Regions from separate parts of the Homo sapiens genome. Here region 1 is linked to region 2. The links are contacts of gene promoters, found by promoter capture Hi-C in human tissues and cell types (Jung and others, 2019). All regions are on one chromosome and are shown on one strand. The core of a region is centred on a gene start or on the middle of the fragment in contact, and the rest is flanking DNA. Distances in the headings are between cores, read along the strand shown.

Region 1 (5,951 bases), core at 718-3,217, 60 kb after region 2:
ACAGCCTGGAGAATACAGCCAGGAGACCAACTAGGCAACAAGCTGTTTTCAAGCATTTTCATAGCAGTCTTAGGGTACTAATTACTATAAGTCTGTTCTCATCACTAAAAGTATCTAGATCTTCTACAAGACTGATTATGTGTTACGTTAGGTAGAAAATCTGCTAGACCTGTTGCCTACATATAAAACATGCAAACACACACAATTTGCTCCTTATTTGTCTCTGATATTGGCATAGGTAAAAACCACTAGATTCCCTTTTAAGAAATTCTGAGGGCCAGACGTGGTGGCTCACGCCTGTAATCCTAGCACTTTGGGAGGCCAAGGCAGGCAGATCACTTGAGGTCAGGAGTTCAAGACCAGCCTGGCCAACATGGTGAAACCCTGTCTCTACTAAAAATAAAAAAAATTAGCTGGGCATGGTGGCAGGCGCCTATAATCCCAGCTACTCAGGAGGCTGAGGCACGAGAATTGCTTGAACTCAGGAGGCGGAGGTTGCAGTGAGCCGAGATCACGCCACTGCGCTCCAGCCTGGGCAACAGAGCCAGACTCCATCTCAAAAACAAAATGGTGGGCTTACTTTTTCTTCAACTGTGGTTGAGGAAACTGATTTGAATAAAATAATTTCAACTCACTTCTACTGAGGTTTTACTTTCAAAAGAATTCAAGACTAAAGTGAGAAAAACAAGGAATGTAAGTACTGGCCATGTACTCTAGGGAAGAGATCAAGATGCAACAAAGTAAACCAAAGCCTCAGAACTACATACAAGAGAGAACAACAAGGAAAGCAAAATCAGACTTCTGTGCTATGTTCTGAAGTTAGCAAAACTAAGCCTAAAGGGGTTAGAAAAATACCTTGCTCTGGTTAGTGGATTTAAAACATAACAATGTTTTAAAACTTTGTCCGTATTAAACACCCAAAATGATTTGTATGGAGAGTAATCTGGAGGCTTACATACCAAGCAGTTACCCATGGCCACCTCTAAAGCATGTGAATGGGGAAAACAGAGACCTTTTCATTTTGTAAAAATTTTAAAGGAAAAAAAACAAGAAAGTAGGTATTACTTATACACTAAAACACACACACACAGTATTTGTAAGGAACTTTGGTTGGATCCCTAGAGAAATCAAACAATGCCAGCTCATAAATCAGCCTAGTAATGCATAGAATAACTACCCACCGTCTTCACCCCTACCCCTACACACACATCTGCTAACACTTAGGACAACTATATTATCAAAACCAGGACACCCTGGAGAGTGGAAAAGGGGGCACTATTAATAATTGCATAGGGAAACACATAAACTGGGAGGGTTCCAGGCAAACCTGGAGGTTTAGCCACCCTATGTGGATTAGCAACTATGTGGACCATCTGCTTTAAACTAAGAAAGAAAAAGACCTTGAGATTTTCTACCAAGCAAGGATTCATAAGGAAAAATTGCAGCATGCCCATTATTGCTTATTTAGCATGCTATCTTTAATATTTTACTTTAGTGATCAAAGTGGTACTTGAGATTTACATGGGTTTCTCTCAGCCTTGTTTCCTTTCACTCTTTTTCCTGTAATATTTTCCCCCTCCTCCCAAAAAGAGATACTATATTTCTGAACCAGGTATTTTCTTTACATAGAGGTTTTCAGGAATGTATTATTCATGGGACATGAATATTACATGGAAGGAGAACATTTGAGTTTACAAATATTTTAACAAATGCTAAGCTATTTAATGTTTTATAAACATCCTATGGGTTGGGAAGGCATTATTATCCACATTTTACAAACAAGAAGTGTAAGGCCCAAAGCCAAACAACTATCAACAGCCATTCAGGACTAGAAGCCAGGTCTTGAGCTGTATTGTGAAGGCACTCCACAATACCATGAGGTTCATCATCTAAGTACTCTCTCCTTTAGCCTGCCTTTCTTCAGTGACATACATTCCTGAGATTTTATCTTGGTTGTGGCTCCCATTTCAGTAAAACCTAATATAAAAAACTCTGAAGTTCATTACAGAACAGTAGCTAATTATGTACATTACAAAGAACTTCACATTGAGGGAAAAAAAACCTGTACATTTCAATATTATTTTTCTCTTTCAATAAAAGTATGACAACTCATAAAAATGTGACACATCTACAACTTTCCAGGAATATGTTCATCTTATAAACTTAAATATACAAATAAATAACTATTTCCATATTATCTTAATGGATTCATATAAAAGCCCTGCAAAAAGGCAACTTTTAGGATAAGAAATCTAAAGTCAGAAGATTCAGTGACTTGTACAAAGTCTCACTCATAGTAAATGATTGAGTTAGAACTAGGACATGCTGGAGTTTTCTGACCAATAAAAGGCCAGAATACAAGCCTGACTCCACTATGAACATATACTCAATCATTCCTTGAGAAAACGAGATATTACAGTTGGCCCCCTATATCTGAGTGGTCAATATTCGTGGAGTCAACCAACTGCAGACTGAAAATATTTTAAACATCGGCTGGGCATGGTGGTTCATGCCTGTAACACCCACACTTTAGGGGCTGAGGAGGGAGGATCCCTTAAGCCCAGGAGTTTGAGACCAACCAAGGCAACACAGGGAGACTCTGCCTCTACGAGAAAAAAAAAAAAAAAATTAGCTGGGCATGGCAGTGCTTGCCTGTAGTCCTGGGAACAGAGTGAGACCCTGTTTCAAAAAAAAGAGAAAAACAAATAGTAACAACTATTTACATAGTTTTTACACTGTATTAGTTATAAGTAATCTAGAGATGCTTTAAAGTATACAGAAGGATGTGTGTAGGTTATACGTAAATACTGTGCCATTTTATATAAAGGACTTGAGCATGGTAGATTTTGGTATGGGAGATGGGGCATGCCAGACACCAATCTCCTGCAGGTACTGAGGGACAACTGTACTTGTCCCCACCTAACTTTAGAACACAGTGTCTACTATGCCAAGCATTGTTCTAGACAATGGAGATATAGTAATCATCAAGACAAAAATCCTGACCTGGTAGAGTTTATACTTTAGTAGGCGATATGAACAACACATAAACAAATATACAGTATGTCAGATGGGTATAGTAGAAGGAGAATAAATAACAACACAAAAGAACAGTGAATAATAAGAGGGTAAGGGAGATAGAGCCTGCAGGGTGCTATTTTACATATGGTGGCCAGAAAATACCTCAATGAGCTGAAATTGTGAACAGAGACCGAAAAGAAATGTGGGAGTAAGGCATGGGGATTATCTAAAGGAAGAGTGTTACAGAGAGAAAAAACAGAAGAATAGCAATTATTAAGTTTGAGATGCTTCTGAAACATCCGAGGACATCCGAGGACACAGTCCAAACATCAACAACACAGTCAGAATTACGAGCGTGGACAGAGAGAGAGGTGTGTAAATACATTTTTTGATTTTTACTTATTTTCAGTTGAAATGAACATTTATTGAGCCCATATTAAATGAGACACAGCTAAGAAATGCCCCTGCCCCATCCATGCACAATTCACATCACCCAACCCAGGATCAATGTCTTGCTGTTTCTCCTCAGCTGGGTACATCCTACATTTCACTAGTTTTCTACCATTATGCAATCTCCTATAGTGGAGTAACAGGCTTGTCTTAAAGCTCAGAATCTTCTTAGAAAGTAGTGGATAACAGTCATAGTCACAGCTAACTAAAAATTTGCTTTAACATGCGCTGAGATGGACTCATTGCTTCCTGTGAATCTGCTAAGCTTGTCTGTCACTCTAATGATGGGCTCTTTGGAATAAACAGCATTCATAATAATCTTCACTCGCGGCCGGGCACAGTGGCTACCGCCTGTAATCCCAGCACTTTAGGAGGCCAAAGCAGGTGGCTCACTTGAGGTCAGGAGTTCAAGACCAGCTTGGCCAACATGGCGAAACCCCGTCTCTACTAAAAATACAAAAATTAGTCAGGTATGCTGGCGCACATCTATAAGCCCAGCTACTCAGGAAGCTAAGGCAGGAGAATCGCTTGAACCCGGGAGGCAGAGGATACAGTGAGCTGAGATCACGCCACAGCACTCCAGCAAGGGCAACAGAGTGAGACATTGTCTCGAAAAATAATAATAATACTGATCTTCACTCACATCATAATCGTCACTCACAAGTTCTCTGAAATGGATTATAATCAGCTGTGGCCTCAGCAGCTTCTTCCACAAAGCTAGAGTTGGCTGACTCCACATCAGTAAAGAATTCCAGAGCCTGCGTGTTCTGTGGTTGGCTCTAGGTCCGTGGTCAAGTCTAGGTTAATGGTTAAATCTTGGTCTGTGGTTAACTCTAGATCAGCGGTCAATTCTAGTAGGTCAGTGGTTGATTCTGGGAGTAGTGTGGAGAAAGTCACAGCCAGGGCATGGAACACAAAGAAAATAAGGACCTTCCTGAGCACGGTGCCTCCACGGAGGGCAGAAGCATCCTGAACTGTATATTTAAATACCACCTGGTACTTAAAGCCATGAGACCAAATGAGAACACCCAGGAAGTGAAAAGAGAGAAAAGGAAAGAACTAAGGACTGAGTCCTGGGGTCACATAACATTTAGAGACAGAAGATGAGAAGGGGCTTAGCAAGAAACTAAGAAGGAACAGCCAATGAGGCGAGAGGAGAAGAGATGTGTCCTAGAGTAAAGTGGGGAAAAAAAAGTCTCAGGAAAAAAGTGATCAACTATGTCAAATTCCACCGAAGTTCAAGTAAGAGAGCTGCTAGTTGACTCTTGGATTTAGGAATGTGGACGTGGCCGATTATGAAAAGGAACATGTGCTCGCCTCAGCAGCATATACTAAAATTGGAACAATACAGAGAAGATGAGCATGGCCCCTGCACAAGGATGACATGCGAATTAGGAAGTATTCCATATTTTGAAATAAATAAATAAATAAATAAGGAACACAAGTTTTTTTTGCAGCAGCTTCCATCAAAAGGTGGAGTCTGTTTTCCCATAACTGAATCTGGGCTTGGCCATGTGAGCTGCTTTGGTCAAAAGGACTTTAGCAAATGTGACACAAGCACAGGCTTTCAAAGTGCTTGTGCACTGGGGCTTCCTCTTTTCCTACTAGAACTCTTTCACCATCATGTGAATGAGCTTGCTAGAGATGAAATAAATAGCTGTTGCCCCTGCTAATGTCAACTCAACCACCACATACAAGTGAGGACATCCTTGCCAGGAAGGCCGCCCAGGCCAGCCCCAACCAGAATTGATCCATAGAATTATCAGCAAATAAAATGGCTTTTGTTCTAAGCCACTAAGTTTTGGGATGGTTTGTTATGAAGCAAAAGCTAATTGATAAAGAGGAAGATACCAGTAACAGACAAGAGCTGTTTCAATGGAATCATGGACATACGAATCTGAATGGAGTTGGTTAAGAATGAATGGATAGAAAGAATGGAACACAAGGCCTCCAGCTGACACTAGCTGAGCTTTAGAGGCTTTCCTTTCTAACAAGGCCATTTCCTCAACCAGAAAACTATATTGTTACACTGTTTTCTAGATACTCCCCACCCACTTCCAAAGCCCCTATAAGTAGGCCCAGTGGTACAGTGGCAAAGTCCTGCTGCAAGTACTTTCCTTGGTGCATCCAGTTATACCCAGCCTAAGCAAACCTGCTCAAGGAGGCAGACAGGATGGAGGGGTGAAAGAACTACATAATCTGCTGCTTCACCGCCATTAAGGTAAACCAATAAACTTGATATTATATTTATACCACCAGTCACTAGGAGTGTGGGTGTGGGGATATGTGTGTATGTGCAAGGATGTCTCCTTACAGGGCACCTAACCATCTCCTGACAAGCCTTGACATGCTCATTACTTGTCATTTTCCAAGTAAACTCTGATCAGAAATTATAATCACTTTTAAAAGCACTTATAAAAATTTCAAAAATAGCTTTTTAAAATGTCAAGAATATGTAAATAACTTACTTGGCAATCCGCAGT
Region 2 (6,201 bases), core at 3,014-5,513:
GGCAGCTTTTTCCTGTGCTCTCACTTCTCCCTCCTGCCACCTTGGTGCCTGCTTCCCCTTTGCTTTCCACCATGAATGTAAGTTTCCTGAGGTCTCCTCAGGTATGCGGAACCGTGAGTCAATTAAACCTGTTTCCTTTATAAACTACCCAGTCTCAGGCATTTCTTTATAGCAGTGTGAAAATGGACTAATATAGCTACCTTTTACTAAGTGAATGCTCCCCACTTATTTAGCAGTACCTACTCCAGGTGGACAGGCTGAATTTAACTTTCAGTTAAAGGTTTGTGCTATCAACCTTCTCCATATGACAGCTCAAGGGTAGAAATCAGGTCCACAGCAACTGCCCATTACAACTTGGCCACCAATCTCCTCACTATTCTTCAGTCAAGGTCACTCACACAGAGCAATAACATTTACTTTCTCAAACCATAATTTTCTATCATATCTTCTTTTCAAACCTAAAATAGCTTCCAAATGCTACTCAAAGTGAATGGAAAAGTCTTCATCAGCAACGAATTTTCCCATCCACTGGATGTTCCTAAGTAACCTGACATCTCTGTTCACTTCCTTTCTCCCCTTCTCTTCTTAAATACATTTTTAAAAGGCCAATTTACTCCTGATGCAGCCCCCTAGGCATGATTTGCCTGCTCTCTTTTTAAAGCCTCATAGGAACACATTCTCATATTCTTTCCACTAAACCACACTTCTTGTCTTTTTCAAAATACTGCTTAAGATTTCAAAGGAAAGGTATTAAATTTTATTTTAAAAGTATTTAAAAGCACCCACTTGCACATTACTGCTGTTAATTATAGATCCTATTCATTAATATAGAAACCTTTACTTAAAGCTAGTTTGTTGACCCAGTTTAAAAGACCATAAATACTTGAAAAATAATTCATTTTATTCTCACACATTTCTTAACTATTTACTGAGTGCCTACTATGTAAAAGACAATGCAAGAGCACATCAGGAATAACAAATGAAACACGGCTCCTACCCTCAAGGAGCGTAGACTTTCTTAAACGTTCTGTGGCATGTATTAGTTAAAAAGTATAGATATGAATAGCTTGATTTAGCCATTCCACACATATACATATATCAAAACATCACGTTATATACCATAAATATACACAAATTTTACTTGTCAATTAAAAATAAGCTTAAAAAACCTAAATTTAAATGTTTTTAAAAGGAAAAATGTATAGACTCCCAAAAAACCTGTTTATAAGTTTTAACTGCTGATATCTACCATATTAGAAACTAAAATTAAGAAATTTCTAGAGAATGAGAGTGAAAAAATAAAAAAAAGCCATTAGCATTATTATAGAAATGGTCTTGACATCATTGATCCCTTGAAAGGATCTCGGGGACCCCTCTGCCCAGTGGTTCCCAGACCACATTTCGAGAGCTGCTGGTCTCGTAGGATAAGACAGGTACATAAATCATCTTAATACACCAGAAGCACTTTTGATACACCTCTACTTAACTCACCTCTAGATTAACAAAGGCTCTCAACTGCCTGCTATTAAATATAGCGACAGATGCCCACAGTCACTATATACTAGTGGGTAATAGGTTAATCTCTAGTACTCCCACACACGTCTGCTCAAACGATGCTAGAACTTGTCTATATTAGTTTTAATAATTATGTAATCTGATTATATATTACAGAAGCCCATTAAATTGCAAGTATGAGGGGAGTTTGGGGGGTGTTTCTATAAAAACTATGTAGAATGCTTTGGTAAGATGATATAAAGTTAAGTTGTAACACAATACTGTCAAATTAGGTACAGGTGAGACAACTGGAGACTGAAAGGGAAGCACAGGAGTCTAGAAAGAGTCTGCATTTAGATAGTTTCACAGTGTCTAAGTTCTTGCTCCTTTTCAAAGAAACCAAAATCGAAAATCTAAACTAAATCATGGGGCCAGGTGCAGTGGCTCACGCCTGTAATCCCAGAACTTTGGGAAGCCGAGGAGGGCAGATCACTTGAGGCCAGGAGTTTGAGACTAGCCCAGGCAACACAAGGAAACCGTCTCTCTACTAAAAATCCAAAAAAAAAAAAAAAAGGTGGGCGTGGTGGTGCATGCCTGTAGTCCTAGCTATTTGGGAGGCTAAGGCATGAGAATTGTTTGAACTCTGTAGGTAGAGGTTGCAATGAGCTGAGATCACATCACTGCACTCCAGCCTGGGCGACAGAATGAGACTGAAAAACTAAATGATGGGTTTAATTTTTGAAAAACAAAGAAAACAGATGGTCAGTCAGTATCCTATATTCAAAGCAAAGGCCTTGTCTTACATATACATCAGCAACTAAATGTACATTTATTTTATTTTATTTTATTTCTGAGATGATGTCTCACTCTGTCACCCAGGCTGGAGTAGCTGGAGTACAGTGGTGCAATCTCAACTCACTGAAACCTCCGCCTCCCAGGTTCAAGCAATTCTCATGCCTCAGCCACCTGAGGTGCTGGGATTACAGGCGTGCGCCACCATGCCCAGCTAATTTTTGTATTTTTAGTACAGCCAGGGTTTCACCATGGTAACCAGGCAGGTCTTGAACCCCTGACCTCACGTGATCTGCCCACCTCGGCCTCCCAAAGTGCTGGGATTACAGGCGTGAGCCACCGTGCCCAGCCAACTAAACGTACATTTATAAGTTTTAAGATAAAATGTTTAAGGCAGATAGGAACTGCATATTGATATCATTTTTATGATTTCCCATCTTTTAATGTAACTGACCAATTACTGGTTATTCCATATGTGCTGTAGGATTCTTCTGTCAAGTTGAATATGTTAAAGGTCATAAAATAGAAACATACAAGAGTACTGGGATTAAACACACATGTACTTGCACACACACACACACCCACTCAGATGTCTAGCTAGAGATCAAGAAGAGTTTTTTGTTTTGTTTTGTTTTGAGATGGAGTCTCGCTCTGTTGCCTAGACTGGAGTGCAGTGGCGCGATCTTGGCTCACCGCAACCTCCGCCTCCTGGGTTCAAGCGATTCTCCTGCCTCTGCCTCCTGGGTAGCTGGGATTACAGGTATGTGCCACTGCGCCAGGCTAATTTTTGTATTTTTAGTGGAGATGGGGTTTTGCCATGTTGGCCAGGCTGGTCTTGAACTCCTGACCTCTGGTGATCCGCCCACCTCAGCCTCCCAAAGTGCTAGGATTACAGGTGTGAGCCACCACGCCAGGCCAAGAAGAGTTTTGAAGAATAAGCAATGATTGTGCTGGACCTTGAAAAATGGGTAGGATTTAGACTGGGGTGGGTGGGGGTAAGAAGGAAGAGTACTGAAGGTGGTAGGAATGGCCTCTGTGTGTCTGTGCTTGCTCGCTCTTGTGCTTGAAATGTTCAACTAAGGGGCTCACACCACCAATTACTAGAAGGACATGGTCTTGCCAGCACTCTGCAGAGAAGCCACACAAACTCATCCTACCAAAGGCTTTGGAATGGCTCAATTCATATCTTTTCCTTGGCCATTTGCTCTTCTTTGGATTCTGGGAAATAGTATGGGATTCTTTCTAAATTCTCCCCCGCACTCCTTTTTTGGCTAGATTGGTTTGTTGACTGGTTTCTGCTACTTGCAACCAAAAGAATCTTATTGAGTATGAACACACATCTTTGATGATGGTAATTTATGTATATCCCACCACCTAAAATCAGAAAAAACTCGAGAGAAAATTTTAAAGGTTATGTATATAAAGCACATCCTATAAAAAGAACTGAAGGCTTCTAGTTAAGATTCTGTCACTAAACAGCAGTGTTACTTTGGAGAAGTTATTTTACATCTCTGGGCCTCAGCATCCATAATAATGATATTACTAGAATGTCTGAGATCTCTTCTAGGTCTCTTTCACTAAATAAAAATGCTAGCCTTCCTCTCCAACTGGGGATGTTTTATTATTTCATTAGTGTTATTTTGTTTGCTCTAGTACTTTCCAAAAGACCTAGATATAATTAAATTTTCTTTGAATAGAAAGAGAATAACAAAATGTTAAGAAGCTGCCCAAGGCTTGAAAATATTTAAATTTGTGCTCTATGCTGGATTATCCTGCCCTATATCTGAACTTGACATACACTCTATGTCAAAGAACTGAGGAGAAATGATACTGGCACTTTTTTTAAAAAGTTAAGGGCATCCCTAGTTTGAAGAAGTTAAAGGAATAAGCAAGCAGCAACACTGCTTATTAGCATTGGCATGTAAGTAATGAAATCAAGTATGTTAGGAAGTCTTAGGCATCAGGAAGTTACACTCATTCATTTCCACAAGACCTTCTGGATCCAGCTGAATGTGGAGGCCTTTAAGAGAACTTCCAGCTCCTGTAAAAACCCAGACCAGAGGACTACTGACCAACATTTCAGGCTGATCCTCCAGACCTCGAAGTTACTCTCCTTACTCTCCTGACTCTTAATTACATCACACCTGTGTCGACACTCTCTGGGAAAAGACTGAAGAAATAATCTTTTCAAGAAGCAGGTACATTTAAAAGGCAAACCATTTTTAATATTCCTAGTAGTCTCCTTTCTTCTCATTTAAAATATGTTCCTAGAAGTTTTTTTGCCTGTGGTTCTGAGTTGAGGTCTACTAATAAAAGGTACTAGCATCTTAACAAACCAGTTAGGCAAACTTTCTATCCCTGTATTATTAAAAAGCTGCTCTTTACTTGTGAAGTAATATTCTGATCTCTATTTGATCTTCAGGAATTTTGCCACGCATGGTGGCTCACATCTGTAATCCCAACACTTTGGGAGGCTGAGGCAGCAGCATAGCTTGAGCCCAGCCTGGGCAACAAAGTGAGACCCAGTCTCCACAAAAAGATAAAAAAGTTAGCCAGGTATGGTGGGGTATGCCTGTGGCCCCAACTATACGGGAGTTTCCTAAGGCAGGAAGATCACCTGAGCCCAGGAGGTTGAGGTTGCAATACACTCCAGCCTGGGTGACAGAGCAAGACCCTGTATCAAAAAATAAAATTTAATTTTATAAAAGTTATAAAATAATTTGCCTAATTTTAACATCAAGCAGCCACATTGTTTTGTCTCTCCCTCTCTCTCTCATCTCCCTGCAAAATTCTTTCCCTCCTCCCTGTCTGTTAATTTTACTTTCTTGTGATACGGAGGGAATAGCTCACAGAGCTGCTCAAATATTTCATCAACTATAAGATGCTATCATTTGTAATAGCAACCATTATTTTACGTGCCACCAAGACAAAATACTGCTGCTAAACTTTGACAAGCTAACGATATTAAGATGTACCTCAGTTATAGAAATGGTAAATATGAAAAAAATGTGTGATATGATAGAGTTCTCCATCCCTAGTTTATAACTCCTCCCTACTCTGTAAGAAACCACATTTGCTCCCTTGAGCCATCACATCCTGTTCTCCTGTTCAGATCCTCTTCTCTCTTCTCCACACCACCTCATCACTGAAGACACAAGCAGATGTTAAGTGATGAGAAAATCAGAAGGAACAGTGGCAGGCGCTAGTATACGGTAACAGAGACCCTCTTTAGTCATTTACTTCCTAACTGTACTACCTTTACAAGAGTTTTCAAAGTTATGCCCTTCATTTTGAGATTGTAGATAATGGTTATTAGCTTAAAATATCTTCTTCCCAAAGAGAAAGTAAAATTGCATTTTGCCAAATAGCACTATAAAAATGAGTTCTGTACAATATTATAATTTTAATGTTCATTTGATGGCTTACATAAGTGCTATGCTCATCTGGTTACAATAGAATTTTCCAGTAAATAATAACGCACAGGTTATATTTCAAAAAAAAACTTCATTTTTAAAAAACTTAAGGTATGACTTCTGCTTACAAAATTATAAAACACAGGTTTCCCTGAAATACTCATTTTCCAAAGTACATGTAAAACATGAATTAATATGACTTATAAATTGTCAAGATTGCCTCTGTAGTGAAAATCAAAGAAATGTGGAATGGAATTTCACCTGAACTTCTGAGCTAGTCTGTTGTCTTTATTTGTGCTCCTTTTGACACATAGTGCCTTATGTTTTTCTATACTCCTCAAATGAAGCTAAAACATTTACCAATGTAGGCAATTTTCCTGGGCTTCCTTGAAGACGCAGTTCAACACTGCAAAATATTTACAGCTGTATTCTTTGGACTGCAATGACATGTTCACACGACCTTGTGGCCAGAGGTTACGTCCTATTAGTCCTAGGAAGGTTC

Evidence for each region. The method cuts DNA at HindIII sites, captures the fragments that hold promoters and counts their contacts. A contact is called where the count stands out against the background at its distance.
Region 1: a fragment that was not itself captured here is called in contact with the fragment with the promoter of KCTD4 in region 2 in 3 of the 25 tissues and cell types used here (IMR-90 fibroblasts, adrenal gland and lymphoblastoid cells).

What each region holds. Positions count from the first base shown.
Region 1 is chr13:45,136,792-45,142,742 of GRCh38, reverse strand. It overlaps GTF2F2 (general transcription factor IIF subunit 2), which reads right to left. Exons shown (of 8, transcript NM_004128.3): 2 at 5,937-5,951. It also overlaps the pseudogene RNU6-69P. Among named protein-coding and RNA genes, the nearest start is that of GTF2F2, 19 kb to the right of the region's middle. The HindIII fragment of the contact is 7,918 bases long and covers 1-5,926 here.
Region 2 is chr13:45,199,107-45,205,307 of GRCh38, reverse strand. It overlaps KCTD4 (potassium channel tetramerization domain containing 4), which reads left to right and starts at 4,263. Exons shown (of 2, transcript NM_198404.3): 1 at 4,263-4,484. The region is part of intron 4 of GTF2F2 (general transcription factor IIF subunit 2); the gene reads right to left. The HindIII fragment of the contact is 9,631 bases long and covers 242-6,201 here.